Linked DNA regions of Homo sapiens: regions 1, 3 and 4 are each linked to region 2. Evidence: promoter capture Hi-C in 16 types of primary human blood cells and fetal thymus (Javierre and others, 2016). All regions are on one chromosome and are shown on one strand. Each heading gives the region's core, a stretch centred on a gene start or on the middle of the fragment in contact. The rest is flanking DNA. Distances are from core to core; before and after follow the strand shown. Region 1 overlaps LAMP3 (lysosomal associated membrane protein 3). Region 2 holds the start of KLHL6 (kelch like family member 6). Region 3 holds the start of MCCC1 (methylcrotonyl-CoA carboxylase subunit 1). Region 4 overlaps MCF2L2 (MCF.2 cell line derived transforming sequence-like 2).

Region 1 (6,222 bases), core at 2,829-5,328, 430 kb after region 2:
TGTTTTGAGACAGAGTCTTGCTCTGTCGCCAGGCAGATATTCTTAAACATGAAATAATTCAAAGGATGCAACACAAATAAGCCCTTATAAAAAAATATTTGTTGACAATGAAATTCACCAAGAGAGGAAATGAGTCGCAATATAAACAAGGAAATAAACAGCCTTCAGGAATAGAAAAGTCACAGTAGGCCTGGCCTAGTGGCTCACACCTATCATCCCAACTCTTTGGGAGGCTGAGGCAGGAGGATTGCTTGAGCCCAGGAGTTTAAGACCAGCCTGGGCAACATGGCGAAACCCCATCTCTACAAAAAATACAAAAATTAGCTGGGTGTGGTGGCACATGACTGTAGTCCCAAACTACTTGGAAGGCTGAGATGGGAGGATGTTGATCCATTTATATATAAAACATACTAAACAATTATGGGCCTGGGAACACAAACACACCTTCACATATATGAAATGATATTTGTACGTGGTTATTCATTACAACATTATTTATAATAGCAAAAAAATGAAAACAAGCCAAGGGTCCATCAATAGGGGCCAGATTTTAAAACTGTGATTCATCCCACAATGGAATCCTATACAGCTACAAGAAGAATGAGGATGCTATGTATGTTTAAGGAAAGAGTTCCAAAATATGTTATATCAAAAAATCATAGTGCATAATAGTATATTCATTATTGTTCTAGCTGCACAAAGAAACATCAGAAATATAAACAAGAACTAAGGAAAGGAATCATCTAATGGGGACAGGGAGAACTAAGAGGAAGGGGCAAGGGTGGAAGTGAAACTTCTCAATGCACAGCATCTTGTATTATTTTGACTTTTCAAATCATATGACAGTGTTAAATCGTCAGAACACTTTTTTTTTTTTTTTTGAGATGGAGTGTCGCTCTGTCTCCCACGCTGGAGTGCAGTGGCGTGATCTCGGCTCATTGCAAGCTCCGCCTCCCAGGTTCATGCCATTCTCCTGCCTCAGCCTCCCAAGTAACTGGGACTACAGGCGCCTGCCACCACAACTGGTTATTTTTTTATTTTATTTTATTTTTCATATTTTTAGTAGAGACGGGGTTTCACTGTGTTAGCCAGAATGGTCTCGATCTCCTGACCTTGAGATCCACCTGCCTCAGCCTCCCAAAGTGCTGGGATTACAGGCGTGAGCCACCGTGCCCAGCCAGTCAGAACACATTTTAAAGACTACAGGAATGATAGTTATCAAATAGAATTGAAGTGTCATAAACCTGGACAATGGATCAAGGTCAAAGATTGTTTCCTTAAGTTGAAATAGCAACCAAAACGTTGTTCACACAGGGCTTGGGGGGCGGCTGCTGGCACTGTGGGCTTCTTAATGAAAAAATTTAAGCTAAAAACATCAAAAATTAAAAGTTTTTAAAACATTTTTCATTTAACAGGCCATTGAAATGCATGGTACAAAAATCAGTGATAAGGTTATTATAAAATGAAATGGACAGAATAAATGTTTGATTTAATTTTCCATCTATGAGAATTTCACAATAAAATCAGTTTACTTTTTAAAAAAGAAAAAAAAAACATAGACAATGTTAAAAACAGTGACATAACTATTCAAAATTTGGAGTTGTCTGGGCACAGTGTCTCACACCTGAAACTTTGGGAGGCCGAGGTTGGAGGATCACTTGAGGCCAGGAGTTCAAGACCAGCCTGAGCAACATAGTAAGGACCCCATCTCTTCAAAAAAGTTAAAAAGTAGCTGAGTGGGGTGGCATTTGCCTGTACTACTAGCTACTTGAGAAGCTGAGGTGGGAGGATGGCTGACCTCAGGAGCTGGAGGCTTCAGTGAGCTATGATCGCACCACTGCCCCCCAGCCTGGGCAACAGAGCAAGACCCTGTCTCAAAAAAAAAATTGGGGGAGTTGAAGAGAGGGGAGATGGAAGGGACTCTGTTAGTGCTACTCTTTCAAAACAGTATCAATAGATAATGTTTAAACTGGAAACGAAGTTTAGTAAACACAAGTCCAATTTATTTCATAACCTCTTAATGTATTTCATAATTGTTTAATGCATACTTCATAATCTCTTTTTAGAACTCTAAAGGGACCCTTTATGAACCAATATTTCCCATGACAAAGAAACATTGGTTTGTGATAATTCCTTCAAGTTCTTTTATCCTATTAAACACAAGTAAAATTGAAATTAACAAATGTAATAAAATAGTACTTGTATGATCCTATCTTAATAAAAGTATTTCTATTTATTTTTCTAACCTATCTATCCTTGTAGTTCTAAAGAAAGAGGCCTGAAATAATGTTTCTCCATATTAGCAATGACATTTCTTGGTGGATGGTCTTGGGGTAATTGGTTTTACTTTTTTGTTTGTGCTTTTTCTCTATTATTTTAGTTATTTATAATGAGAATAGACTATTTAAAATAGAGTGATTTTGCTTTAAGCATGCACGTGAGTTTGCACACATGCACACGTGTGCACACACACACACACACACACACACACACATTCACAGAGGAACTACATGCCCAAAAAGGTTTATAGTGATTGATTCAAATAGAAGAAATGGGGTGATTGGATCAGTCACTTCTTTTCTTTGTGTACTCTTTTGCATTTTAGAAATGTTTAAACAATGTTAAATAATTTAATAGCTTAACAAGAGAGAGTAAAAGTTGCCCTCCACTTCCTTCCCAGTCCTCCTGCCAGTTTTTGGTGTATCTTTTCACACTGGACCCACAAGCACATGGGTTTGGGTTCACATGATACTTCACGGAGCTTAAGGAACTTCTGTTACAGAACACCGAGACCTACCACGTTCTTTTTAATGGCTATATTATTTTCTATTGTCTGAATACTATTTTAGTTTTTACGTATATTTAAATTGTCTCATAAAATGGACAGTGCTGTAATATACCTTTGCATAGTGTATGAATATATCTTTGGGATAATTTCCTAGAGATAGAATTATTGGGTCAACAGGTGTGTGCATTACATTTTGTTTTAACTTTTTGTATTTTTTCCCACTCATTTTAATTCCTTAACTTGTCAAAGTTCTTTTTTCGTTTAAGAAATATAGGCCAAGTGTGGTGGCTCACGCCTGTAATCCCAGCACTTTGGGAAGTCAAGGATTGCTTCAGCCCAGGAGTTTGAAACCAGCCTGGGCCACATAGCAAGACCCCATCTGTAAAAAATAAAAAATTGGCCCAGCATGGTAGCACACACCCCTAGTCCCAAGAGGATGAGGTGGGAGGATGGCTTGAAGTCAGGAGTTCCAGGCTGCAAAAAAAGAGAAACATATATAAGTAACAAAGTTTCATGTACTCCAAAAGGTCTTATCATGGAAAGCAACATTTCTCTGTCCCTCTGCCTCCCTGCCCCAAGATACAAGATACTTTTAACTAATTTTAACAATTTCTTCTGATTGCTATCTCCATAACTCTAAAAAATAAAAGCTTATCATGATAGTTCCTAATTGATCCATTTTAGACTTCCTGCTATAGCACATAAAGATTTGTGGTTACACAACTATTTTTGGGTAAATCAGTAAGGTATTAAGGCACACATTATTATAGTTTTATAAATATTGTCTGCTGTCAAGCCAAATCGTGTACTACAATCACAGTTTCTTTCTTGTCCAAATTTTCTTTTTCCTGGAATCTTTAATTAATTGCCACTCTGTCTTCTCTGACCTCTTCTGATACTTTTTTTCTCAGATCTCAGGTACACTGAATTGGGTTGATGGTGATCCTTGGTTCAGGACATAATTTCAGTGTTAGTTCGTACAATGACCTCACACATGTATCTTTTTAGCTATAATGACTAAGACATGGTTCTTCATTTATTTGCTCTTTTCTCCCAGTCTCTTCATTAGAGTATTCTATCAACTTCCCCTTTTACCCCAGACCCCTCCGTCTTTCCTCGGTTGAGATTTATTAGTCTCTGACCCAATCAATTACATTAAATGAATTGAGTAAGCGTTTTCTAATGGTATAAAGAAAAAACAGTCTTGATAAGTTTGTAAACTCTCACTTTTAAGCTCTCATAAATAATTTGGTCTGTTTTCTAATATTAGCTAAAAGTAATACAATAGAACCTTAGGAGTGACAAAAATGTTTTATAAAGTGGATAAAAATCATGTTTCTCAAGAGATCATCTGTAATCTGGTCACTGGTCACACAAATGTTTTTTGTTTGTTTGTTTGTTTGTTTTTGAGATGGAGTTTCGCTCTTGTTGCCCAGGCTGGAGTGCAATGGTGTGATCTCGGCTCACCGCAACCTCTGCCTCCCGGGTTCAAGCAATTCTCCTGCCTCAGCCTCCCGAGTAGCTGGGATTACAGGCATGTGCCACCACGCCCGGCTAATTTTGTATTCTTAGTAGAGATGGGGTTTCTCCATGTTGGTCAGGCTGGTCTCAAACTCACGACATCAGATGATCCGCCCGCCTCGGCCTCCCAAAGTGCTGGGATTACAGGCGTGAGCCACTGTGCCCGGCTGGTCTCTTTTATGTAAGCATATCCCACTTAGCAGGGAGTATGCCTGGAGTGACTTCTTACTCAGTTCAGGAAATAAGGATTATGATTATTGAATGTTAATTACTAAGAAAATATGGTTATTTAATCTTCTGACAGTCTTACATATTATTTGCTTACTTTATAAATTAGGAAATTGCAAGGGTAAATTACCTGCCCAAGGTCACAAAGCTAGTTAATGGTGGAGTTAAAAGTCAAGCTTTGTTTGATGCCAAAGCTCATCTTCTTTCCCCTCTAGCCTGCTTTCTGGACTGCATCACCAAACCTTACCCACTGTATTGTATTTGTTTTCTCTCTTAGTGGATGAGTGCTCGTCTGACTACACAATTGTGCTTCCTGTGATTGGGGCCATCGTGGTTGGTCTCTGCCTTATGGGTATGGGTGTCTATAAAATCCGCCTAAGGTGTCAATCATCTGGATACCAGAGAATCTAATTGTTGCCCGGGGGGAATGAAAATAATGGAATTTAGAGAACTCTTTCATCCCTTCCAGGATGGATGTTGGGAAATTCCCTCAGAGTGTGGGTCCTTCAAACAATGTAAACCACCATCTTCTATTCAAATGAAGTGAGTCATGTGTGATTTAAGTTCAGGCAGCACATCAATTTCTAAATACTTTTTGTTTATTTTATGAAAGATATAGTGAGCTGTTTATTTTCTAGTTTCCTTTAGAATATTTTAGCCACTCAAAGTCAACATTTGAGATATGTTGAATTAACATAATATATGTAAAGTAGAATAAGCCTTCAAATTATAAACCAAGGGTCAATTGTAACTAATACTACTGTGTGTGCATTGAAGATTTTATTTTACCCTTGATCTTAACAAAGCCTTTGCTTTGTTATCAAATGGACTTTCAGTGCTTTTACTATCTGTGTTTTATGGTTTCATGTAACATACATATTCCTGGTGTAGCACTTAACTCCTTTTCCACTTTAAATTTGTTTTTGTTTTTTGAGACGGAGTTTCACTCTTGTCACCCAGGCTGGAGTACAGTGGCACGATCTCGGCTTATGGCAACCTCCGCCTCCCGGGTTCAAGTGATTCTCCTGCTTCAGCTTCCCGAGTAGCTGGGATTACAGGCACACACTACCACGCCTGGCTAATTTTTGTATTTTTATTATAGACGGGGTTTCACCATGTTGGCCAGACTGGTCTTGAACTCTTGACCTCAGGTGATCCACCCACCTCAGCCTCCCAAAGTGCTGGGATTACAGGCATGAGCCATTGCGCCCGGCCTTAAATGTTTTTTTTAATCATCAAAAAGAACAACATATCTCAGGTTGTCTAAGTGTTTTTATGTAAAACCAACAAAAAGAACAAATCAGCTTATATTTTTTATCTTGATGACTCCTGCTCCAGAATCGCTAGACTAAGAATTAGGTGGCTACAGATGGTAGAACTAAACAATAAGCAAGAGACAATAATAATGGCCCTTAATTATTAACAAAGTGCCAGAGTCTAGGCTAAGCACTTTATCTATATCTCATTTCATTCTCACAACTTATAGGTGAATGAGTAAACTGAGACTTAAGGGAACTGAATCACTTAAATGTCACCTGGCTAACTGATGGCAGAGCCAGAGCTTGAATTCATGTTGGTCTGACATCAAGGTCTTTGGTCTTCTCCCTACACCAAGTTACCTACAAGAACAATGACACCACACTCTGCCTGAAGGCTCACACCTCATACCAGCATACGCTCACCTT
Region 2 (6,937 bases), core at 116-2,615:
AGGGGCCCAGAGAAAACAAAAACAGAAGAAAGGTCGATGTCTCTATCTCCTGAGGCTGGGATACAGTCATCTCCTGCCTTGAACAACAGGACTCCAGGATCCCCTGCCTTTGGACTTCAGGACTTACACCAGTCTCCCCACCCCCTGGATTCTCAGGCCTTTGGCTTTGGACTGAGAGTTATACCATCTTCTCTGGTTCTGAGGCCTTTGGACTTGAACTGAGCTCTCAGCAGTCTGTCATGCGACTTCTCAGTCTCCATAATCACGTGAGCCAATTCCCCTAATAATTTCCCTCTGCTATGCCTCTCTAGGTATCCTTTTGGTTCTGTCTCTCTGGAGTCCATCATCGACTGAAATATCATTATGCTGGGTATGACTGTAATTGTAATGGTTAATTTTAGATGTCAAGTTTGCTGGGCTAAGAAATACCTAGCAACCTGGTAAAGCATTACTGTTGGGCGTGAGAGAACGCTAACTGATACGCTCCTATAACTTCCCCAGGATATCATGGGATTTTAATAATGACAGTTATTACTACTTAACTGAGACATGCAGAGGTAATGAAAATACTTCAGGATCCACCGTTAGATGCACGGTCAGTAGATGTTGGGCTAATCTGAGACGTGCTATGGCAATTCGGTGTAGACCCACCCTGACTCATCCTCTGAGAAGATGCTGTTGATGGAGTTTTGGAAACCATTTCTTCTGTGCCCCCAAAGCATATTCGAAACAATAGACATTTTTTTTGGTGGGGGAAGACATGAAAGTTTGCCATGACGTTGTTTTCCCCTGGGTAGGGAGGAGGATGAAGATAGACGATCTGCAGTGCCGCCAGAAATGAGAATGTCAGGGATAAGTGGGGTTTCCATGGTTTACAAAGCACGGTTGTTGGATCATTGTGGGGTCTCAGACTCCTGGGAGGAGGAAGTGGGAGGATCATAGACTGTCTCCTGTCCATCCCCTCGCTGACGACTTGGGTTATTGAGCCACTAGGAGTACAAATGTGAAGCAGGAGGATTATAGACTGTCTCCTGTCCATCCCCTCATTGACGACTTGGGTTATTGATAGCATTAGGAGTACAAATGTAACAGCCACCACCGGAGGCTTCCTGCTCACGGATATGAGGTGGGAGATGCACCAAAATAAACACACAGCACTCACAGTGGACTCTGAGAGGACACTCCTCTTCCAGAACCCCCTCCCACACACCTATTCTAAGTAATTTCTAACCCTGTGATTACTCACAGAAAGAAGAAGAATAGAAGTTGCTGGCATTTGTAGTAACAGGATGAGAAAGTGCGAGACTTCCTGTTATGTGTGTGTGACAGCTGGTGATAAGTGGAGGGCCCTGCACAGGAAATCCGCTCAGCTCCTGCAATGGGGCCTGCCTGACACTTGGGCGCTCCTTCAGTCTCGATGTTGATGGCAGGACAAAGGGGCGCCTGGACCATGGGTGATGTGGTCGAGAAGAGTTTGGAAGGGCCCCTGGCACCTTCTACAGATGAGCCCTCCCAGAAAACAGGAGACTTGGTCGAGATCTTAAATGGGGAAAAGGTCAAATTTGACGACGCGGGACTCTCCTTAATTCTTCAGAATGGCCTGGAAACCCTGCGAATGGAAAACGCTCTGACAGATGTCATCTTGTGTGTGGACATTCAGGAATTCTCCTGCCACCGCGTGGTGCTTGCCGCAGCCAGCAACTATTTCAGGTCAGCATGCCTAGGACCAGAGTCAAATTGGGTGCAAGTTGCAAGGAAGAGGTGTGTTAGTGTGAGAGCCCAATCTTGAACAGTTGGCCATGATATTTATGGTTTACATATATATTAAGGCTTGTGTGTCTACTTAAAATATAAGAAAGGACACTATCACACTTTATTTTATTATTTATTTATTTATTTATTTTTGAGACGGAGTTTTGCTTTTGTTGCCCAGGCTGGAGTGCAATGGCGCAATCTCGGTTCACCGCAACCTCTGCCTCCTGGGTTCAAGCGATTCTCCTGCCTCAGCCTCCCGAGTAGCTGGGATTTGCAGGCATGCACCACAACACCCGGATAATTTTGTATTTTCAATAGAGATGGGGTTTCTCCATGTTGGTCAGGTTGGTCTTGAACTCCCGACCTCAGGTGATCCACCCGCCTCCGCCTCCCAAAGTGCTGGCATTACAGGTGTGAGACGCTGCGCCCGGCTTATCACACTTTAAATTTTAGGATTTAGGCCACATTAAAAGAGAGATTGGCATCATTTAAAAGCAATGCTTACATTCTATAGTAAACCTTTTGTGTATATTTCCTTGTTCCAAAGGATGGAAAATTACTGAAGTCATGGGGACTTTTTTCCCCCTTGGTCTGACTGGTGTTGGAAACATAATGTTGTCTTTGTTAATCAACAGACATAGAGAAAAAGGATGTGGCCCCTCTTCTGGAGTTGTCAAATGACTTGTTACAAATTAGGGGCTTCTTTATGTGTAGGCAGTGTGGGGAAAGGGAAAGCAGTTACAAAGATGCTTTAGATGGGAGAGGCCTCTAGTTACGATAAACTGGTGATCTCATAGTGGGAAGGCCTGAAGTCAGGAGACTTGGTTCCTTCTTGACAGTGAAACTTTAGGCAAGTCACAAAGTGCTCTGAATGTCTGTTTCATCATCTGTAAGGTGAGCACAATGATGATCACCTTTCAGGGCTGTCATAATTAAACAAGAGCGTGAAAAGGGTCCTACACAGTGTCTAGCATATAGTAAGTAGATGCTCAATATATCTTTCTTGGAATTCTTTTTCTGATTCTGCTTGATTCAGCTAAGGATGACTTATTGAGTGTTTCCCATGAGCACGTCCCTGGGGTAGGAATTTTATAGCGCTGGGAACCCAGTGAATACACCTGATCCAGTGTTCTCCATATCAGCATGGACATGGGGGAACCAGCCTGCAAGGGCAATGTGGATAATGAAGAAAGTATTTGGGAACTTGAAAAGAAATACCCTTAGAATTCTTCTTAATGAGATTCTTCTTAACTCTTGATTCTGGCTGAGGAAATTGAAAACGATTAACCTATGAAAGTATTATGGAAAGCGTTTTCTTTCTTTCTTTTTTTTTTTTTTGAGGTGCTTGGGGGGAAACGTTTCTTTGTAATTCATAGAGCAGGATCAGCAGGTTGCTGTGGGACTCATTAGGTCTCCTGTGTTGATAAGACAAGGGGATATCTGGGTTTGAGGGAAGCAGTGGCTGCTGTGTGCCAGACAGACATAGTTATCTGATTTTATTTTTGTAACAGCATGATGAAGGTGGCTGATATTTCACAGATGAGGAAATGAAAACTCAGCATTATATATCTGGTCATTGCTGGAGCAGGGACTGGGTATGTTCTGGAAATCCTTGTTACTGCAATGCAAGCTGCCACTAGGTCTGGGACTTCATTCCATGGGAAGTGTGTAAAATATAAAGTGTAAACACAGCCATCAAAATGGGTTGATATAAACACATTACTTTCTCCACCAACCTTGATCACGTGCTTTCACGTTGACTGCAGCCCCTCTCAGGAGTGAGTGAAGTCAAGTTAGCTCAATGCCCTGGGGACGCACATTTAGGTTGATCCTTTTGTATCCCTTGCTATCATAAAATGCATACCTGGAAGCAGTTTTGTTAGCGGGTTGGCCTGGCTGTGGACCAGGCCCGCTGGCTGTGTGCCCTCGAGTTGATCACTGGTCTTCTCTGGTTCTTGGGTTTCTCATCCTAAATGGGAATTTGGGCTTGGGTCCTTCCAGCCCTGCTGATCCAGGATACTTAGGGAAAGTCTCTGCCGGTCGTCAGAGGAGGCAACGGCAATGAGAAGCTGGAGAACATGAGGGTGAAGGCATCTGACTGTGTATACAGAGCCTCTCCCAAAACTGCCTGGTCATGAGAGGAAATTCCTTCAATTCTTCTCTTCAGAGAAGTGACTTTTGCTTCTTCTCTTGGGATTTTCAACGTGACTTTCCTTCTACAATGAATACTGTCCTGGAGACAGGATTCTTTCTTCCGGTGCTACTATTCCTATCAACTCCTGTTTGTGGAGCGCTTACTGTGGGCCAGGCCCTGTAGCTTCTGTATCACATACTCTAGTCCACTCCACCCTCACAACAACCTGACAAGGCAGGGAGTCCTATCCCCAGCCTACCGACGGTGAGCCAAAGTCCAGAGTGTCACAGCAAATAAAAAGTAGCCAAGCTGGGATTTAGACCTAGGACTGACGTTAAATCTGACACACTCTCTCGCTTTGTGTCTGAGGTTTTGAAAGGGGTTCTTCGTATGCTCAGGTTTAGGGAGGTCAAAGAGTCTCTCTGTCTGAGAGGCTTTCTTTTTTTTTTTTTTTTTTTTTTTTTGAGACGGAGTCTCGCTCTGTCGCCCAGGCTGGAGTGCAGTGGCACAATCTCTGCTCACTGCAAACTCCGCCTCCAGGGTTCAGGCCATTCTCCTGCCTCAGCCCCCTGAGTAGCTGGGACTACAGGCACCTGCCACCACGCCCGGCTAATTTTTTGTATTTTTAGTAGAGACGGGGTTTCACTGTGTTAGCCAGGATGGTCTCCATCTCCTGACCTCGAGATCCACCCGCCTCGGCCTCCCAAAGTGCTGGGATTACAGGCGTGAGCCACCGCGCCCGACCAGTCTGTGAGGCTTTCAACACAGCTCTCTGTGTTTTGGAGGGCCTGGAAGCTGGTTATAAAATTATGTCATTTTTTTCCTTTATTCACTGAGAAAATAATTACTTTCCACTAAGGGACTGACAATAGTTTATTAAACAGTCCCCTACGGACAGACATCTGGACTATTTCTAATCCACATTTTGCTATTACAAACAATGTTGTAATGAATAACCTGAAACATGAGTTTTTTTCATATGCATTTCTTGAAGGGGGTTTGCTGAGTCAAATGCATCTGCAGTCTTAGCGGTTATTGCAACTTCTCTTTCATTGGGGTTGAATCATGTTGCGTTCCCCCACGGCATCACCAAAAGAGGGTGTCATCCAACCGCTGAAGTTTTACCAATCTGATAAATGAGAAAGAATATCTCAATTTAGCTTTAATTTGCATTTTTCTTATTTTTAGTAAGATCAAACATCTCTTCGTATGTTTAAGGGGCATCTGCAGTTCTTTTTTTGTTGAACTGTCTCTTCACTGCCTTTCTGTTTTTCATGTATTTTTTTAAAATTAAATTTTATTTTTTATTAAAGATATGCAAATAGTAAACAAAGCGTTAAATAGTATTTAAAGGCTTATAATGAAAAAACAAAAATTCCTATTTCCTCCTCCACCCTGTCTCATGCGCCAAAGGCTACCACTTTCAACTTCTATTTGTTTCTTCTGGCACTAGCTCTATATTTCTGCAAAATACACTTATACTGCTCTTTCTTGATTTTTCAGTGTTAGACATCATTCACTGATTTCAAATAAGGATTTAGTATCCTTACCTAACCTCTTACCATAAGCTTTCCTTCCCTGTAATCTTTCAACATAATGTTATCACAACAAGAGTTTACATTATTATGTTCACGAAAACCTTGTTCTCTGTTGAGCCAAATTACTCAATGATCACGTTTCTTTTCTTGTAAACCTTTTGTCTTTCCTGAAGTTATTAATTCACTCATTTTTTCATTTGCTTTGTTTTGGGGTGTCTTTTGCTCACAGGCTCACAAAAATCTTTCATATGGTCCAATGCATCAAACAATCTACCAGTTCCATTTCCTCAGAATCCTCCTGCCTTGCATCATGTTACACATGTTCCCTGGATTTGCACGCTGGCTGGGATTCACCTGCTTCTCCATCATTCCCCGGGACTGTCTGCTATGTTGAATGGAGCCTTCTCCCTTCAACCCCTATCTTTCTCTTCCCTGGTTTACCATCTTACCCTGATAAGCACATTCTCCAATAACTTCCTAAGAAAGAGTGCATGGGAAGTAATTTTTTTTTTTTTTTTTTTCTGAGACAGAGTCTTGCTCTGTCGCCCAGGCTGGAGTGCAGTGGCAGTATCTCCGCTCATTGCAAGCTCCGCCTCCTGGGTTCATGCCATTCTCCTGCCTCAGCCTCCCTAGTGGCTGGGACTACAGGCGCCCGCCACCACGCCCAGCTAATTTTTTTTTATTTTTAGTACAGACAGGATTTCACCATGTTAGCCAGGATAGTTTCAATCTCCTGACCTCGTGATCCACCCACCTTGGCCTCCCAAAGTGCTGGGATTACAGGCGTGAGCCACTGCGCCCAGCCCATAGGAAGTAAATTTTTAAGGCCTCGCATATATTTTTGTTTTGTTTTGAGACAGGGTCTTGGTCTGTTGCCCAGGCTGGAGTGCAGCAGCTTGATCATGGCTCACTGCAGCCTCCCTGGGCTCAAGCAATTCTTCCACCTCAGCCCCCCAAGTAGCTGGGACCACAGGATGTACCACCATGCCCGGCTAATTTTTGTATTTTTTTAGTAGAGATAGGGTTTCACCATGTTGGCCAGGCTGGTCTGGAACTCCTGACCTCAGGTGATCCACCCACCTCCGCCTCCCAAATTGCTGGGATTACAGCTGTGAGCCACCCACCACGCCTGGCCTTTCTTTGATTTTAAATAACATTTTGATATTTCACAATGATGTGCCTTGGAGGGGTGTGTGTGTGCGTGCGTGTGTGTGTGTGTATGTGTGTTTTACTCCAACCATTATGCTATGCATTTGATGAACCCTTTTAATCTGGAGAGTCACATCCTTTAATCCTGAACATTTCCTCATATTACTGCCTGGTAATTACATGGTTACTGTTTTCCTTGTTTACTATTTCTGGATCACTTATTCAGTAGATGTGGACTTCTAGAACAGTCTCTAGCTTTCTCATCTTCTCTCTCCTGTTGTCCATCCTCTTATCTTTCTGTTTTACTTTCTGGAAGATTTTTCTCAATTTTATCTTCCAACCTGTTGAGAATCTCAGTTTT
Region 3 (6,942 bases), core at 4,192-6,691, 460 kb after region 2:
ACAGAGAGAGACTTCGTCTCAAAAAAAAAAAAAAAAAAAAAAAAAAAAAAAAAAAAAAAAAAAAAACTTTCTCTGCTCTAAGACCTCCCATAATGTCTTCTAGAACTTTTATGCTTTCATCTTTTATATTTAATCTTTCATCTACTTGGAATATTTTGGTGTTAGGTGTAAGAAGTAAGCAGGGATCCAGCTTTTTTTTCCAGAGGGCTAATCACTGGTCCCAATCACTTCTTGAATTACTGAGTTTTAAAATCTAGAATGAAGGTCAGATTTTGTCAATGACCTATTAAGCCTCTGTGAATATAAGTTTTTCTCTTTTAAACTCTTAATATTCATTTTATTAATTGATTTCTTAATAGTGAATCATCCTTATACTTCTGGAATAAACCTTGCTTATTTACAGTGTGTTATTCTTTTCACATGCTACAGGATACTTCAGTTATTTTTTTTGCTTCTTTTTTGGAGACATTCTCTCACTCTGTTACCCAGGCTGGAGTATAGTGGCATGATAAGAGCTCATTGCAGCTTCAAACTCCTGGGCTCAAGTGATCCTGCCTCAGTCTCCCGAGTAGCTGGGACTACAAGTGTGCATCATTACGCCCAGTTTTTTTAAAAAAATGTTTGTGCAGATGCGGGTCTCACTATATTGCCCAGGCTGGTCTCAAACTCCTAGGCTTAAGCAGTTTGGGAGGCCCACCTCAGCCTCCCAAAGTGATGGCGTGTCCGAAATTGGTGGGTTCTTGGTCTCACTGACTTCAAGAATGAAGCTGCACACCCTCGCGGTGAGTGTTACAGCTCTTAAGGCGGCGCGTCTGGAGTCTGTCCCTTCTGATGTTCAGATGTGTTCGGAGTTTCTTCCTTCTGGTGGGTTCGTGGTCTCACTGGCTCAGGAGTGAAGCTGCAGACCTTCGCGGTGAGTGTTACAGCTCTTAAGGCAGCGTGTCCGGAGTTGTTCGTTCCTCCCGGTGGGCTCGTGGTCTCGCTGGGCTCAGGAGTGAAGCTGCAGATCTTCGTGATAAGTGTTACAGCTCATAAAAGCAGCGTGGACCCAAAGAGTGAGCAGTAGCAAGATTTATTGCAAAGAGCGAAAGAACAAAGCTTCCACAGCGTGGAATGGGACCCGAGCAGGTTGCCAATGCTGGTTTGGGCAGCCTGCTTTTATTCTCTTATCTGGCCCCACCCACATCCTGCTGATTGGTAGAGCCCAGTGGCCTGTTTTGTCAGGGTGCTGATTGGTGCGTTTACAATCCCTGAGCTAGATACAAAGGTTCTCCACGTCCCCATCAGATTAGTTAGATACAGAGTTTCGACACACAGGTTCTCCAAGGCCCCACCAGAGCAGCTAGATACAGAGTGTCGATTGGTGCATTCACAAACCTTGAGCTAAACACAGGGTGCTGACTGGTGTATTTACAATCCCTGAGCTAGATATAAAGACTCTCCACGTCCCCACCAGACTCAGGAGCCCAGCTGGCTTCACCTAGTGGATCCCGCACCGGGGCTGCAGGTGGAGCTGCCTGCCAGTCCTGCGCCGCCGTGCGCTCGCATTCCTCAGCTCTTGGGTGGTCGATGGGACTGGGCGCCGTGGAGCAGGGGGTGGCGCTCATCGGGGAGGCTTGGGCCGCACAGGAGCCCATGGAGTGGGTGGGAGGTTCAGGCATGGCGGGCTGCAGGTCCCGAGCCCTGCCCCGTGGGAAGGCAGCCAAGGCCCGGCGAGAAATCGAGCGCAGCGCCGGTGGGCCAGCACTGCTGGGGGACTCAGTACACCCTCCGCAGCCACTGGCCCGGGTGCTAAGTCCCCCATTGCCCGGGGTCAGCAGGGCTGGCTGGCTGTTCCGAGTGCGGGGCCCACCAAGCCCACGCCCACCCGGAACTCCAGCTGGCCCGCAAGTGCCGCACACAGCCCCAGTTCCCGCTCGTGTCTCTCCCTCCACACCTCCCTGCAAGCTGAGGGAGTGGGCTCCGGCCTTGGCCAGCCCAGAAAGGGGCTCCCACAGTGCAGTGGGGGACTGAAGGGCTCCTCAAATGCCACCAAAGTGGGAGCCCAGGCAGGGGAGGTGCCGAGAGCAAGCGAGGGTTCTGAGGACTGCCAGCACGCTGTCACATCTCAATGGGGGGTTACAAGACATGAGCCACAGCACCCAGCGTAGTTAATATTTTATTTAGAATTTTTCCACTGATACTTACATGTGAAATTGGTCTGTCGTGTGTGTGTGCGTGATATCTTTGTTGATTTTGGTATCAAAGTTATGTTTACTTTTTAAAAAGAGTTTGGAAGACTTCCATCTTTTTTGTGCTCTGGGACAGAATTAATAGCATTTGAGTCAATTACTCATTTGTGTGGAATTTTCTTGCAAGACATGGAGGGCTTTTGTAACTTTTAGGGGTGAAGGTGAAGGTGAAAGTGGGCCATGGTGGTAGCAAGGATAGTTCTTTGATAAACTTCTCTATTTTTTCTGTGGTAACGGTTTGCTTAAATTTTGTCTCTTCCAGGATCTATTTTGATAAATTGTATTTTCTTGTAACATCATCCATTTCATCCAGAGTTTTAAGTTCACTTGAAGTTAAGCAAAATTAGCATCTTACAAATCTATAATTTGTTTCCTGTGTCTGTGATTTTCCCCTGCTTGTTTTTTAAATCATGTCAAATGTGCATTTTTCTCTATTTCTGATTAGATAACTATTTTATTTTTTGTGAACCTGTGGGTTTATTAGTCCTTTGACACTGGTTTCCTGAATTCATTTATTTATTCCTTTATCTTCCCTAATTTCTCCCTCCTGCTTTCCTCATGAAGCATCTACATGTAGTGTTTACAGTTTCTTTATTCTCTAGATGTTCCTCAGTTTGCTCTTTGACTTCCTCTTTTTCCCAATAGTCAGTTAGAATACCTGTTTTAAGCTCAGGTGGTTTAAAGATTTTCACTTTAGCTTATTTATTTTTTCATCCCTGAGAGCACTAGAGAATTGTGTATCCTGCTGTCCATCCGCATTTGGCTTCTTCCCCAGGGTTCTTCTCCCAGAAGGTGACGAGAGCGAAGAAACCCCACGGGATGCAGGAAGAAACAGTGACAGGCAACCAAGAGGGGGAGGATGGAGAAAACCCTTGCCTTAGTCAGAGCAGGCCCCAGGGGACGCAGAAACAAAGGCCACACCCCCACGAGCACGTGGCCAGACTGCCCAATCGTCGCTACTGAAGCCGGGCTCTGGTCTTTGATTGGTGTTCGTGGAGACGCCCTCACATTCTTGGATCAGCCCAAAGGTAGGCTCAGGCTCCGACGGTGGCCGGCGGGGGTCACGAGGCTTCGTAGTGGAGGAACGGGTTTGGCGTGTGGGACGCAGCTGCCTCTGTACTGGGGAGTCACGGAGTGGCCGGGCTCCAGGGACATGGCGGCGGCCTCTGCGGTGTCGGTGCTGCTGGTGGCGGCGGAGAGGAACCGGTGGCATCGTCTCCCGAGCCTGCTCCTGCCGCCGAGGTGGGTGGAGGGGCCATGGCTCAGTGGGCAGAGGCGGGAGCGAGGGGTGCACGGACCCGCGTGAGCGGTGGGAGGTGCGGCGGAACCCAGGGTCGGTGTGGGGAGGACGGTAGGAAAACCCCAGGCACTTTCGGAGGGGTTCTGCCGGCAGTCACGGCGTCGGGAGGAAGACATCCCCACCAGCCCTTCCCTTTCTCCCCGCTTCCGCACATCCACGCTTCAGCGCGCCTTTGGCTTCTGTTTTTCCATTTCTGAGGACTGGGCCCGCCATCCTCCAGGCTCCCCTCGCCGTCGCTGCAGCTCGTAGCCGTTTACATCGGGCTTTCGCAGCACCCCTTAGGTGGGAGCGTTGTTATAATCCGGTTCCGGGGAAGCCCAAAGGGATCAACGACTTCCTCAACGAAACACAGCTAGTAAGAAATGGGGCCGGGATGCCCTCAAAGCCATTTTTCAGTTCAGCTGTGCCCCATCAGGTGTCCAGTTCAGAGAAAGACTCCTGGAGTTCCTTCTCATTGTTAGAAGAGTGAAGTTGTCAAGAAGAGCAAATGTACCTTCCACAGAGCTGGGAAATTATTTTGTCAAAAACTCTTGTACCCAAGTTTGAACAACGCTATCAGATGACTCAGTCTAGCTCACCTGACTCCAGCTCTGTTTCAAATTTTGAGCTCTAAGCTTTGGTGGCAATAACTCTGGCAGTGAAAAAACCCTCAGGCTTGTAGATAGCTTTGCTTCTTTGTCTTCTTTTGCTTCATCGTTATCATCCTTCATCATTCTGGAAAGATTGACAGTTTAGTGTTCAAGGGCACAGACTCTGCAGTCAAGGCTGAGGTCTTAGTTAGCTACTCACTAGGTGTGTGACTTTGGGTAAGTTACTTAATATTTCTTCTTTAATTTCCTCACCTTGGAGATGATACGAGTACCTTGGGTTGTGAAAACTAAATGAATTAATTCATGGAATGAGGTTTAAGCACAATCTGGTACATAAGATCAGTCTATAAATGCAAACTCAACCATTTATATGAACGTTTGCTTGCTTTTATTTTCCAGAAATATTGTAGATGCCCTTTTTAGTTACTTAATTGTAGGAGTGCCCCAGAGAAACATAAGAAAGTTGTTGGAAGTTGGCGGGGCGCGGTAGCTCACGCCTGTAATCGCAGCACTTTGGGACGCCGAGGCGGGCAGATCACGAGGTCAGGAGATCGAGACCAACCTGGATAACACGGTGAAACCCCGTCTGTACTAAAAAATACAAAAAATTTAGCCGGGCGTGGTGACACGCGCCTATAGTCCCGCCTGTTAGTCCCAGCTACTCGGGAGGCTGAGGCAGGAGAATGGTGTGAACCCAGGAGGCGGAGCTTGCAGTGAGCTAAGATCACGCCACTGCACTCCAGCCTGGGCGACAGAGTAAGACTCCGTCTCAAATAAAAAATAAAAAAATAAAAAAAAAAGTTGGTGTAAGTAATGTTAATGTTCTTCTTGTTCTTCTGGTTTTTCTTTTCTTAGGCCTCCAGGGCTCTTCAGGATAGTACCATAGACCCATTTCCTGTCTTCCCTTTCAAAGCTTAGCTATTGTCTAAAGAACTATCCTCAAGTATGTCACTCTGGAGAGTGTTAGAGTTGTTAATGGCTTATAGAAGTAAAACTCTTTGCCAGGAGACTTGGTTCATGCCTGTATTTTCAGCAGTTTCTCAGCACTGTGGGATCCAAGGTGGGAGGATTGCTTGAGTTCAAGAGTTCAAGACCAGCCTGGGCAACACAGTGAGGCTTCATCTCTACAAAACATTAAAAAATTAGCCAGGCGTAGTGGCACACACTTGTAGTCACAGCTACTTGGGAGGATGAGGAGGGCGAGGACGGCCTGAGTCCAGGGGTTCCAGGCCGTAGTGAGCCATGATCACACCACTGTACTCCATCCTGGGTGACATCCCATCTCAAATAAAACAAAAACAAAAAAATCTTAACAGCACAGATAGTTTACATTATTTTTATGTTATGAATCTTTAGTAGCTCACAGAAAATAATCTCTGGTGGCAGAATTATAGACATGACAATAAGCTGGTATAGAGCTACCTTGAATCAGGGAAGCAGCTTCTTTTTTTTTTTTTGAGACGGAGTCTCGCTCTGTCGCCCAGGCCGGACTGCGGACTGCAGTGGCGCAATCTCGGCTCACTGCAAGCTCCGGGGAAGCAGCTTCTTAATCTTGTTTAAGCCATTGCTTTTAAGTTGCAGCTTAGATAATTGTGAAAAATGGAATAGATGATCAGAACATTGTTGGGATAGTGGATTACAGTTAAGTGGGATCTCTGTCTCTTTCTCCCTCTTTTTCCCTCTCTCCCTTCTTCTGTCTTCACTAGAAGATTGCAAAAGAAAGCTTTAGGTCAACAGTAGCCTTGAAACCGAATCAGTCTTAAGCTAGCTTTACCAACAAGCAACCATTTAATAGATACATCTGCCCAGAATAGGCCTTGAAACTTATCAGAAGCCTATCTGAAGAATGTAAAGGGAAGACGATGCTATGAGCTAGAAAATACCTCATAAAGATCAGGAAAGATGATCCCCCTCCTTCAGGATCAAGAAGGTAACATCAGCTGAAATGGAAAGGTGTGGGAAAGCAGCAGCCTCGTGAGGAAGCTAGCTCACGGAACTCTCCTGCCAAAGCTGTGGGTCTTCCCAGCAGCTCCTCATGGATGGCAGCATCTGAGTGTGCATTGTAGGGCAATGAGTGTATAGACGCATATAGATGTGTAGATGTCTACTGCATCTCCGCTCCAGTGAAATACTAGTCCTGCTCAACTACATAGTCATATACATAATATGTATATACTACTGCCTAGTTACATAGTTTCTAATGCACACGCTGTGCTTTTATCTTGTGCTTTGTGAATAATCTAAAATGGTTAGTTAGTCCTTTATAACCACATCTTCCAGGTATAGACAAAAAGATAGGTGGAATTGCTTCTGTAATTTGTTTGTTTCCCTGCATATGCTTTTTATTTATTTATTTATTTTTTTTTTTGAGATGGAGTCTCACTCTGTCACCCAGGCTGGAATGTAGTGGCACGATCTTGGCTCACTGCAACCTCCACCTCCCAAGTTCAAGTGATACTCCTGCCTCAGCCTCCCAAGTAGCTGAGATTACAGGTGCGCACCACCACACCTGGCTAATTTTTGTATTGTTAGTAGAGATGGGGTTTCACCATGTTGGCCAGGCTGGTCTCGAACTCCTGACCTCAGGTAATCCCCCCACCTCAGCCTCTCAAATTGCTAGGATTACAGGCGTGAGCCACTGCACCCAGCCCACTTATCCTCTTTAGCTGAAACTTAATAGACGTTATACTTTTTTGTTCCTAAAGTGAATCTGGCCTGTTTTCTGTCAGCTCTTGGTTACTTTATTTTATACACAGGTATCACGAAACTTAAAAATTGTTGAGACTTCTACCTCATTAAAATACCTCAAGTCATTTTGTCT
Region 4 (6,275 bases), core at 2,347-4,846, 370 kb after region 2:
TCACTGCAACCTCCACCTCCTGGGTGCAAGTGATTCTCCTGCCTCAGCCTTCCGAGTAGCTGGGATTACAGGCTCATGCCACACCCAGCTAATTTTTGAATTTTTAGTAGAGGAGACAGGGTTTCACCATGTTGACCAGGCTGGTCTTGAACTCCTGACCTCTAGTGATCCATCCCCCTCTGCCTCCCAGAGTGCTGGGATCACAGGCATGAGCCAGCGCGCCAGGCTGTATAACACTGCTTTGATCAGGGGACTCAGTATGGCAAAAGAGAATCAGCCATAGACGTGATCACAGGACAGAGTCTTACCACTGCATTCAGAAGCTGGTGCCTGACAGAGTAGTGGGACAGCCTCTTGAGAGTGAGGCGGGGCAGCAGTTTGGACATGGCACTGCGGGGATGGAGTGCTGTCCCTCAGGATGCAGCATACAACTGAACCAATGGCTGTATTATGGTGAAGTGCCCCCAAGAGGCAGAGTATATGAATCTGGGAGCCAAGAAGTCAAATGAGTTGTGACCTTGCCCATCATGACTCTAGTGATGAACACGGGGACATTGTTTTCTCCCCATGTCTCCAACTTTAACCTCAGTGGGTCTCAACAAGGGAGATGCTTCCACTAGGGAACACAGCAAGAATCCTACTTAACTCAATCTGTGGCTGCCACCTGCCACTGCAGTTGGTCCTTGGCTGTGCTTTGTCATCATTCCCTCCTACTCATTCTAGACATCCCTCTCCCCATCAGGCACTTCTACTGGTGGCATGTATAGTGGGGGTCCTAGACTCTTATCAGGCTATGGTTCTTGGACTTGGCCATCATAGTTACAGCTGGGCATGGGAGTATTGCGAGATGTCCTAGTGGATCACCTGAGCATCAGACATGTCCCTCTCGGCCTTTGTTAAGCAGCAGCCCTACCTCCTCACCACGACTAGGACCCGTTTCTCCTTCCACTATGGTAACTGCTCTCTTTGCCTGCTGGTCTATTGACATGAGGAGAAAGGGAAAGGATTCCACGTGCCAGCTGGGATGGGGTCTGGGTAGGGGAAGGGAAGAAGGTAAGATTCAGTAAGGACCTACACAACTTCCAGATGGGACAGTCAGCAGACAGGTGGGTGTGCTGTTTACTGGCAGCTTACAGTAAAAATAAAGGGCTGGGCGCGGTGGCTCACGCCTGTAATCCCAGCACTTTGGGAGGCCGAGGCGGGAGGATCAGGAGGTCAAGAGATTGAGACCATCTTGGCCAACATGGTGAAACCCCGTCTCTACTAAAAATACAAAAATTGGCTGGGCGTGGTGGCGCATGCCTGTCGTCCCAGCTACTCGGGAGGCTGAGGCAGGAGAATCACTTGGACTCAGGAAGCGGAGGTTGCAGTGAGCTGAGATGATGCCACTGCACTCCAGCCTGGAAACAGAGCAAGACTCCATCCAAAAATAAAAAAATAATAAAATAATAAAAAAAATAAAGGTTATAAGCTAAGACTGTTTTACTGACTTGGATGGTGCTGAAAATTTTTAATTCTGAATTCACTTTGCCTCTGATTTGCAAAGTTCTGGCCATGTGAAAGACATAAAAATGAGAATAACTGTTGTACCTCAGAGCTAACAGAGGAAGAACCTGTCTGCCAGCCTTACTACAGGTCCCTCGTCGGGTACCTCAGGGTCTCCAAGGGGGCCTAGGAGCTATCCGGTATAGCACGTCATGGTTGTTTCTTTGCCAATTTTTGTGGCATTTCCTTTTGGGCCTAGATAATTTAGTTACTTTCATTATCTTTTTTTTTGTGTTATTCAAACTTATTGGGGCACTCTAGTATTTCAATGAAGAAAATAAGTTCTAGCAAACAGCCCTCTCTGGAGAGATGGTGGGTTATTTTACATATCTGACCAATTGGTTTTAACTATTTTAAGTTTCCTTTTCTGATTATTAAAGGAGTACACATGTAGAATGTCAGGAATTTAGAAAATACAGGAAAGTACAAATAAAAATACAAATCCAACATAACCAGATATAATCACCATTAATATCTTCTTGCAGACGTTGTCTATAGAAATGCATGATTTGGTCAGTTGTGGTGGCTCATGCCTGTAATCCCAACACTTTGGGAAGCCAAAGCAGGAGGATCACTTGATATCCAGGAGCTTGAGACCAGCCTGGGCAATATCGCAAGACCCCATCTCCACAAAAACTTTTGAGACGGAGTTTCACTCTTGTTGCCCAGGCTGGAGTGCAATGGCACGAACTTGGCTCACTGCAACCTCCACCTCCCAGGTTCAATTGATTCTCCTGCTTCAGTCTCCCGAGTAGCTGGGATTACAGGTGCCCACCACCACACCTCGCTAATTTTTGTGTTTTTAGTAGAGACGGCAGTTTCACCATTGTGGCCAGGCTGGTCTCAAACTCCTGACCTCAGGTGATCCGCTTGCCTCGGCCTCCCAAAGTGCTGAGATTTACAGGCATGAGCCACTGCACTGGACCTACAAAAAATTTTTTTTAAAAATTAGCTGGGCATGGTGGTGGGTGTCTGTAATCCTAGCTATTTGGCAGGCCAAGGTGAAAGGATTGCTTGAGCTCAGGAGGTTGAGGCTGCCGTAAGCCATGATTGTACCACCGCACCTCTCCTGGGCAAGAGTAAGGCCCCATTGCAAAACAAAGATATGCATGATTTTTTTTAAATGGAGCCATACTAAAATTGGGGTGACCTTATATTTTAATCTTATTGGAAATTTTCCATTAAAATTCTGATGAAATGGGCAAGGCTTTGACTGAACCAAACTAGACGTATTGGCTTGCCCTTCCCTCCTGCCACTCATCTTTGGGCTTATTCCAATCCAGAACATTTGAGGGCAGCTGGTGGCTGAGCTGGGAGGTAAAGCTAGGTTATAAAGTTTCTTTGACCTACAGCCCCTCCCTCCCCCAAGCTTCCAGCAGCTCTGAAAGTCTAAGACAGCCAGCTCAGACTGCCTTAGGAGCTGGCAGGGACTTTGACAACAGAAATGCACGGGAAAAAAAAAATGTGCCCTGAGAATGTCAACATGTGGAATCTGAAAGCAATTAATTAGATGTTCTCAAGAATGATTCACTTCCTCTTAGCCAAAGATAGGCTTGCAAATGAAATAGACGTTTCAGCTATAGACCAGCCTAAGATATCCACGTTTATACTCTGGGCCACCAAGCAAAATATTGTAACCGAGCCTAGTACCCCTGGAAACATTTTGGAACTCTCTCCTGTTGGGAGCTCTGGAGAGCTACTGGGATGGATCAGACAGAATGTGACACCATGTATTAAATCCTAGAAGACAGAGAGGGGAAATTGGTTAGCAGCACACACAACACAATGATGAAGGGCTCAAACTCAGGTCTCAAAGACCCAGCCTCAAGTGCAGCTCCATCTCTTTGGATGGATTCTATAGCCTGTCTGTGCTTAAGTTCTTTTTATCATTCATTTTACAAAATGGAGATAATACTGTACAGTCTTGCCATGAGGATTAAATGAGATGAAGCCCTTAGGCTTGCGCCTAGATCTCTGAAAGCATGGAATTGTTAGCAGTTAGTTACCCCCTGGTTCTTCCAAGTGAAAGGAAGGAAAGCCCAGGGGGTTTAGGCATTGCTTTTAAGCAGCTCACCACTTCCCACCCCCAAGTGAAAATGATATCCTTTAGTTCATGTGATAGAGATGGTCCTTAAAAAGTTGTGCATAATTGGCCAAGCGCGGTGGCTTACGCCTGTAATCCCAGCACTTTGGAAGGCCAAGGTGGGCGGATCACGTGGTCAGGAGATCGAGACCATCCTGGCCAACATGGTGAAACCCTGTCTCTACTGATATTACAAAAAAATTAGCTGGGCATGGTGGCATGCGCCTGTAGTCCCCAGCTACTCAGGAGGCTGAGGCAGGAGAATCACTTGAACCCGGGAGGCGGAGGTTGCAGTGAGCCGAGATCGTGTCACTGCACTCCAGCCTGGCAATAGAGCGAGACTCCGTCTCAAAAAAAAAAAAGAAAAAGAAAAAAAAAGTTGTGCATTGAGAAAAATCTAGTTTGAAAGACAATAAAAATAGAATTTGCCCATTTAATATCTATGGATTGAGAGCTACCGCTGAACCAGCAGGATCTACAATGGTCTCTTTGTGCCATCCACTGGACAGTAAGGGAAACACCATGATTTTGTCTTCAAAGTCTATAATTTACCAAAAATATGTATGCTGGTGAGAATAATTTCAGCTCATTACTAGGTTCACTTGTTAATAAATTTCATTCCATTTGTTTAAGCAAAATAAAAAAGCTTAGAATTCTAAGCACTAAATGTGAACACTAGATTTCCTAAACCATTCAGCTTATCTGATATGCACCAGAAAGATTGTCGACTAAGGGTTTCAAAAGAGAATACTCTCACCAGTCCTTATCTGCAGGAATTCTCATCGCCCACCTTTCCCATTCTTGTCCTTCTCCACCAATACTCCTTATGCTTATCTGATACATAGACTGAGAGTGCCCCAGAGACTCAGGGTGTATCTGCTCCAACACACCACTAGATCTTGGCTGGGACAAAAGTCGTTCCATTCATTTTCCAAGAATACAACTATCACTTAGAATTTTGCTATAATCAGCTGGGCATGGTGGCTCACGCCTGTAATCTCACACTTTGGGAGGCCAAGGCAGGTGGATCACCTGAGATCAAGAGTTCGAGACCAGCCTGACCAATATGGTGAAACCCTGTCTCTACTAAAAATACAAAAATTAGCCAGGCATAGTGGCATGTGCCTGTAGTCCCAGCTACTCTGGAGGCTGAGACAGGAGAATTGCTTGAACCCGGGAGAAGGAGGTTGCTGTGAGCCAAGATCACGCCACTGCACTCCAGCCTGGGCGACAGAGCGAGACCCCTGTCTCAAAAACAAACAAAAAAACAAAACAAAACAAAACAGTTTTGCTATAATCAGATTGAATATTTGTCAAGAGCCTGTGTGTTTGGCATGGTTTTTCTGAGGGGTGTGTGTGTGTGTGTGTTTGCTCTGTTTCTTTTTAAAGCCATTTATTATCCTTATAATGTTTCTTTCCCTGAGTGTTTATGAGGATGAGACAATGGCAGACAAACCTCCCTGAAATGTAAGTAATAATAGCACACCTGGAGTGCCCAGAGCTGTTTTGAGACCCTCTCTTTAGTATTATTGTAATTGCTATACACAATAATCATAACAGGTACTATTTGTTGAATTCCTATGATGTACCAGGCATTTTTCTTTATCAGAAGATTTGCTAATCCTCATACCAAGACTGCAAAATCGATGTTATTATCTCCATTTTAGAGATAAGGAAGCTGATGCTCAAGAGGTTAAGTGATGTATCCAAGATCACACAGCTAGTGAGTGACAGAGTGAGAATCAGGTCTGACTGCCCTCAGGTCTGACTGACTCCAGAGCACCTTCTCCTGCCATGGGGCAATGGGCCTCTCAGTTGTTCCCTCACATGCCTGTGACTGGCCAGATCCTGAGTCTGAGATTTTGGGGTCCCCTCAGTGCTGCCAGCTCCTTAGTGCCTAAGACTCTTAGGGCCTCAGAGCCCATGACCAGTGAATCCAGCAGGGGATTAAATATGCAGATGATGTAAGACAGCAAAAGTCAGCCCAGGAGGTGGGCATGATGGCTCACATCTGTAATCCCAGCACTGTGGGAGGCTGAGGTGGGCAGATCAGTTGAGCTCAGGAGTTCAAGACCAGCCTGGCCAACATGGTAAAACCCCATCTCTACCAAAAAATACAAAAATTAGCTGGGTGTGGTGGCATGTGCCTGTGGTCCCAGCTACTCAGGAGGCTGATGTGGGAGGATCAGTTCAACCCAGGAAGTCAAGGCTGCAGTGAGCCGTGATCACACAACTGCACTCCAACCTGGGTGACAAGCCAGACTCTGTCTCCAAAATAAATAAATAAAAGCCCAGGGCTGGGACTGGAAGGCCTGGGTGAGGAAGGGAACATGATCTCTAGGAGTCAGGACACCCCGGTCCTGGCCCTGACTCAGCTCCCACAGGGCCTTAAGCCAGTCCCCACAAGGCACACAGCCTGGTGGTCAATTACCATCCCTGGCGGGGCACCCTGTGAGCCGCACTTTCCTCCGCAGAGAACCAGGGGCTTTGCCTGCAGGATGCTCTCTAAGGTTTTCTGGTTCTGAGAATTCTGAGTTTCTTCCAGGAGCCCTGGGGGATACCTGGTGAATAGGTTACTGTCTCTGCTGGCAGGAACCCGGGGCCTGGAGGGAGACAGGCGAGGGCACACCCAGAGCAGCTGCAGTTT

The links. Contacts are between HindIII fragments. The CHiCAGO score rates a contact against its expected background, and 5 or more counts as called.
Region 1: a contact is called between a fragment that was not itself captured here and the fragment with the promoter of KLHL6 in region 2, in 11 of 17 cell types (M2 macrophages, activated CD4 T cells, M1 macrophages and 8 more). The highest score is 16.1, in M2 macrophages.
Region 3: a fragment that was not itself captured here is called in contact with the fragment with the promoter of KLHL6 in region 2 in 1 of 17 cell types (activated CD4 T cells); the score reaches 5.6 in activated CD4 T cells.
Region 4: a fragment that was not itself captured here is called in contact with the fragment with the promoter of KLHL6 in region 2 in 3 of 17 cell types (M0 macrophages, M1 macrophages and M2 macrophages); the score reaches 7.7 in M0 macrophages.

Annotation. Positions count from the first base shown.
Region 1 is chr3:183,122,807-183,129,028 of GRCh38, reverse strand. It overlaps LAMP3 (lysosomal associated membrane protein 3), which reads left to right. Exons shown (of 6, transcript NM_014398.4): 6 at 4,815-6,222. The coding sequence ends at 4,948. Among named protein-coding and RNA genes, the nearest start is that of MCCC1, 26 kb to the right of the region's middle. The HindIII fragment of the contact is 1,275 bases long and covers 3,441-4,715 here.
Region 2 is chr3:183,550,134-183,557,070 of GRCh38, reverse strand. It overlaps KLHL6 (kelch like family member 6), which reads left to right and starts at 1,365. Exons shown (of 7, transcript NM_130446.4): 1 at 1,365-1,710. The coding sequence starts at 1,418. KLHL6-AS1 (KLHL6 antisense RNA 1) reads right to left here. Exons shown (of 2, transcript NR_046687.1): 2 at 4,745-5,018. RefSeq lists a silencer at 4,336-4,505. The HindIII fragment of the contact is 8,561 bases long and covers 1-5,459 here.
Region 3 is chr3:183,095,883-183,102,824 of GRCh38, reverse strand. It overlaps MCCC1 (methylcrotonyl-CoA carboxylase subunit 1), which reads left to right and starts at 3,329. Exons shown (of 19, transcript NM_020166.5): 1 at 3,329-3,473. The coding sequence starts at 3,385. RefSeq lists an enhancer at 3,264-3,403. The HindIII fragment of the contact is 810 bases long and covers 5,037-5,846 here.
Region 4 is chr3:183,182,639-183,188,913 of GRCh38, reverse strand. All of the region lies in intron 27 of MCF2L2 (MCF.2 cell line derived transforming sequence-like 2), which reads left to right. Among named protein-coding and RNA genes, the nearest start is that of LAMP3, 23 kb to the right of the region's middle. The HindIII fragment of the contact is 1,360 bases long and covers 2,917-4,276 here.